Regions from separate parts of the Homo sapiens genome. Here region 2 is linked to region 1. The links are contacts of gene promoters, found by promoter capture Hi-C in human tissues and cell types (Jung and others, 2019). All regions are on one chromosome and are shown on one strand. The core of a region is centred on a gene start or on the middle of the fragment in contact, and the rest is flanking DNA. Distances in the headings are between cores, read along the strand shown. Region 1 holds the start of DMRTA1 (DMRT like family A1). Region 2 has its middle 40 kb from the start of DMRTA1.

Evidence for each region. The method cuts DNA at HindIII sites, captures the fragments that hold promoters and counts their contacts. A contact is called where the count stands out against the background at its distance.
Region 2: a fragment that was not itself captured here is called in contact with the fragment with the promoter of DMRTA1 in region 1 in 1 of the 25 tissues and cell types used here (pancreas).

Annotation. Positions count from the first base shown.
Region 1 is chr9:22,445,381-22,448,088 of GRCh38, forward strand. DMRTA1 (DMRT like family A1) reads left to right here and starts at 1,444. Exons shown (of 2, transcript NM_022160.3): 1 at 1,444-2,352. The coding sequence starts at 1,686. RefSeq lists an enhancer at 1,620-2,119. The HindIII fragment of the contact is 10,852 bases long and covers 1-2,708 here.
Region 2 is chr9:22,405,497-22,408,196 of GRCh38, forward strand. No RefSeq gene overlaps it. Among named protein-coding and RNA genes, the nearest start is that of DMRTA1, 40 kb to the right of the region's middle. The HindIII fragment of the contact is 4,176 bases long and covers 1-2,700 here.

The DNA.
Region 1 (2,708 bases), core at 194-2,693:
GTAACCTGAAGCTCCTAAAAAGAATAGAAAAGAAAATTGCTTTCTCGTTAGGTAATTCATTGTATTTTAATGATCCATTTAGAACTAAAAACTCATCTCTCAAAGGACGGATGTGAGTCCACAGTTAGGGCATCAGTACATTTTAGGCAGGAGTAGCTTGAACAAAGATAAAGAGTTGTGAGAAAGGTTGGATATCATAGAACCCCCAGAGGTTAGGAATTCCTTGAGTGGTAGTTCTAAACATTGTATGTAATTTTCACCTTCAGAGTTTAAGACACAGACAAAAAGAATCAGAATACATTACGTAGATTGGAGTGTCCATCTCTTTTAAAAGTTCCCTAGGTAGTTCCAGTTCTTAGGAAGGGTGGAAAACTTCTACGATAGGATGTTTGTATGAGAGGATGGTAGTGGTGGTGATGGTGTTGAGTAGGTTGGTAGGAGAAAGGCCAGATAGATCAGCAATATCTGCTCTGAATGTGAACAGGTGGAATGGTAAAAATATCATTATTAATTGCTATCTTAGGGATGGAAAATGAATAACTTGTCCAAGGTAGTTGGATACCATCTTGAAGAGCTGGCAGAGTGCTGACGCTACCTTCCATTAAGAATAAACATTCATGAATTTTCTATCTCAGATGCTCTTTTGACTTAAACGCCTTATGGTCTTTTCTTATAATTAAAGGCATTAAATTCATATGTGAAGAATGCATTCATGACAGCATATTTAAATAATGATCTAAACGACTTTCCCCAATACTTTACAATAGACATAAGTATTTTTGAAACAGCTTTAACACAATCGCTGCCTATAAATAGGCGCAGAGAAGAGTTTGATAACTTTTTTAAAGTAGCAGTATTTTAAAATAGAGTACACACAACCCAAATTCGCATGTGTAAATAAATAGAATGCATGAAAAGAATCTGAATGTGAATCACTTCCCTTAGTTATTTATCCATTGTTTTGATGCTGTCCTAAGACCCATTTAAAATAAGGCATCTTTCTGGTGGGTAACAAATTCGTAGTCTATCAAGCTGGGATCCCACTAACATTGGCCAAACTGCTGCAGACATGAAGACTTCATCTGGGAACCCGAAAGGAGAACTCAAAATCCAAATCTTCAGACTTTCTTAGGAGAAGCGTGGAAGTGGGAAAAGGAGAAATTCAAACTCTGCTTAATTTCAAAAGGGCAGTAAAAGGGGAGGCTGCAAAGGCTAGTTTACAAAAATAGACGTCGAGAACTCCTAGGGAAGCAAGTAGAAACGGGCTTTTTTTGGGGGAGGAGACATTTGCAGCCCATTGGACGGATTCCCCGCCGCCCTCCTCCCAGAAGGTCCCCACTCCCCGCCCCGGGCCCTCCCCCGGCTTCCGCGCTGGGCCGGGAGCCTGGGTGGGCGGGGTAGCCTCTCTAGCCTTGCCTTCTTGGCTGGAGGCACAAAGGCATTAACTTAGCGCCCGGGGTCTCTGCCAGGCTCACGGGACAGCTGCACCTCTCAGCGTCTCCAGCTCCAGGACGCGGTCGTCCCAACTCCTTCCGAGTGGAAAGAGTGTAAAACTTTTGTCCGTGCGCGGGTGGAGCTCAGTAGGACCACGGCGCGTCCTGCCCCGGCTTCCCCAGCCTCCCAGCAGGGTTAGCTGCGGTCAGCGCACTTTCCACTTGGGACTCCCGGCCAGAAATTTCTCGGGAATGGAGCGGTCACAGTGTGGCAGCAGAGACCGAGGCGTTAGCGGCCGACCTCACTTGGCCCCTGGGCTAGTGGTGGCTGCCCCTCCGCCCCCGTCCCCGGCGTTGCCGGTACCATCGGGGATGCAGGTTCCCCCAGCGTTCCTGCGGCCGCCCAGCCTCTTTCTGCGAGCAGCGGCCGCGGCCGCCGCCGCCGCTGCCGCCACCTCGGGAAGCGGAGGCTGCCCGCCGGCTCCCGGGCTGGAGAGCGGGGTAGGCGCGGTGGGCTGCGGCTACCCGCGGACGCCCAAGTGCGCCCGCTGTCGTAACCATGGTGTGGTGTCAGCGCTCAAGGGCCACAAGCGCTTCTGCCGCTGGCGGGACTGCGCGTGTGCCAAGTGCACCCTGATCGCCGAGCGCCAGCGCGTCATGGCCGCCCAGGTGGCGCTGCGCAGGCAGCAGGCGCAGGAGGAGAGCGAAGCCCGGGGGCTACAGAGGCTCCTGTGCTCGGGGCTCTCCTGGCCCCCCGGTGGTCGGGCATCCGGGGGCGGCGGCAGAGCCGAGAATCCACAGTCCACGGGCGGCCCTGCGGCGGGGGCTGCGCTGGGACTGGGTGCCTTGAGACAGGCCAGTGGTTCCGCGACCCCCGCTTTCGAAGTTTTCCAGCAAGATTATCCTGAGGAAAAACAAGGTGAGTTGGTCTTTGATTTACTCTTTGCTCAAGGAATGGTTGTTCTGGAAAGAAACTCTGAAACAAGCCACCGTGTCCATAGGCGGGCAGGAATAGTTGTTTAAAAGAAACACTTTAAGTTTTGGGGAACTGCTCAGCAATATGGACATTAATGAGAGTGTGAGAGACCCCATCGCCTTCACTTTGGAGGAATTTACTGTTGTTCCCTCAGGTGATAGGATGAGATAATGAAAAAATGAAGCATGGGTGGTAACAAATGAGCAATTCACCCTAGGAGTAGAGTTATTTACTCGGAAGTTGATTTGACTTTCACTGTGTGAGTAGAACTTCAAGCAGGCATTGAGCGAAAAGCTTCG
Region 2 (2,700 bases), core at 162-2,661, 40 kb before region 1:
AGAATATTTATAGAAGCTTTATTCTTTATAGCCCTAAATTAGAAATAACCTAAATATCCATTATCTGATGAGCAAAAAGACAAATCAAAAATATCAATGTAATGGACTATTACTCAGCATTAAAAAGGAATGAACCACTTTTATAAGCAGTAATGTGAGAGAATTGTAAAAGAACTCTATTAGGTATAGAAACCAAACAGGATCCTGGGGACAAGATGGCTGATTAGACACAACCAGAAAGCACTGCCCCTACCAAGAGAAACCAAGGTTTTAAGTAAACCAACATACTGGACTGATCTTCAAAGAGAAAATGCTAAGAATGGATAAAGATGAGATGCAGACACTGAGGCTGAAGAGAGAAGAGGACCCTTTGTTGGGTACCAAAATGCTGAAGCTGCTTCCTTGCCCTAAATGGCTCCTTGGGAATGGGTGAGTTAAGGGACTGTGGGACTCCCTAGCTTTGCCATGGACCTCTGGGATCCAGGCTACAGCGAGTCCCATATCCCCCATGGACATTTAAGTTGACAGGAGGTTCTTCCTAGAGAGTAGACAGAGAGGAGCTTTAGCAGTGGAGGAACCCACGGGTCTTTGTGCACAGTGCAGCTTTGGCTGAGCATGGCCACAGGCGCTCATCCCTCAGAGCTCCCCATCTCCCTCCGAGAAGTTCTAGCCCCTGCTGACTGACAGGCGAGGAGAAAGTGGGGCATTTCCCTGTGGGACCGGGGCACATCTGTTCAGCAGGCCCTCCTGCCTGCCAGCTCCTCCCAGGGCCCCTGTCTGGCTGCCGTGCGGGAACATGTGCACAGCACAGCCTCTGCTACCCGGTCTGGTTGCTTCGCTCCACCGATTCACTTTTCCAGCAGGCTGAGAACACTTTGGATTCCCTAGGGCACCCAGAACTCGAATCCAAGGGTCCAGAGGTCAAAGTCACAAGCTGATCCTGGCACTTCAGGGTTGCAGTGCACAGCTTGGGAGTGCCAAGCTGCGATTTGTGGCCAGCACTCAAGTGGGAGTCTACACTCCCAGAAAACTGAGGGGATTGAGATGCATAAGTTCATGGGCTAGAGCAAGACTAGGTTGTGCCTCCTTCTGCAGGATTGACCTGGAACTGACCTCTGCCCAGGGAGCCCCATGGCCTGGAACACCTAACAGAAGAAATGCAGGTCAGTGCCAGTGATCAGAGAGGGCGTCCACGAGGCCCAGGAATGGACCTGGTGAAGGAGTCACCTCTTTGCCTCCCTCTAGCAATTAACATGGCTGCAAATGCAAGGAAATATAGAGGAGCTCTGTGGCTAAAAGCCTGTTTACTGCCCATTACTGTTAAGCACCATCTACTGGATCACAGCCCAAACTATAATACATCACTAAAAATATTTTGATAGCATATTCCTTTGTGAAACCAAGGGCAATAATTCAGATGTGAAAGAATCAGCAAGAACTCTGGCAATTTCATGTCTATGGCTATATCACCTAAAATGTGCTGATCTCATCTGATTGAGCTAAAAAGCCAGTGTCCTTTTACCTCCAAATGAATCCACTACCTCCCAAGCAATGGTATATAACCAGTCTGAGATGACTGAAATGAGACATATAGAATTCAGAATCTAAATGACAAGGAAGCTCATTGAGATTTAGGAGAAAGTTGAAATTCAATCCATGGAATCTACTAAAACAATCCAAGACAAAATAGCTATTTTAAGAAAGAACCAAACTGAAATTCTAGAGCTGAAAAATTCACTACAAGAATTTCATAATACACTCAATCAGAAGTATTGACAGAAGAATAGACCAAGCTGAGGAAAGAATCTCAGAGCTTGAAGACCTGTCCTTTGAATCAACTTAAATAAAAAGGAAGAAAAAATAATTTTAAAAAAATGAACAAAAACTCAGGAAATATGAGATTATGTAAAGAGACCAAGTCTTCAATTCTTTGGCATTCTTGAGAAAGAGAGAATAAGCAATTTGGAAAATATATTTGAGGATATAGTCCATGAAAATGTCCCTAATATCACTAGAGAACTTGACATGCAAATTCAAGAAATACAGAGAACCCTGACTATGTACTATACAAGACAATCATCCCCAAGGCATATGGTCATCAGATTTACCAAGGACAACACAAAAGCAAGCATCTTAAAGGCAGCTAGAAAGCAGGGGGAAGTCATGTACAGAGGGAACCCCATTAGGCTACCAGCAGACCTCTCAGCAGAAACCTTATAAACCAGAAGACACTGGGGACCTATTTTCAGCATCCTTAAAGCAAAGAAATTCCAGTGAAGAATTTCATATTCTGCCAAACTAAGCTTCATAAGTGAAGGAGAAATAAGATCCTCCTCAGACAAGCAAATGCTGAGGGATTCATTTTAACTAGACCAGTCTTATAAGAGGTCTTTAAGGGAACACTAAACATGGAATCAAAAGAACAACACCTGCTACCACAAAAACACACTTAAGCACATAGCCTATGGGCACTATAAAGCAACTAAACAATCAAATCTACAAAACAACCAACTAGCAACATGAAGACAGAATTAAAGTCTCACATATGAATACTAGCCTTGAATGTAAATGGACTAAATGCCCCATTTAAAAGATACAGAGTGGCAACAAGGATAAAAAGACAAGACCCAACCATGTGCTGTCTTCAGGAGTGCCATTTCACATGTAACAACACCTACAGGCTCAAAGTAAAGGTATGGG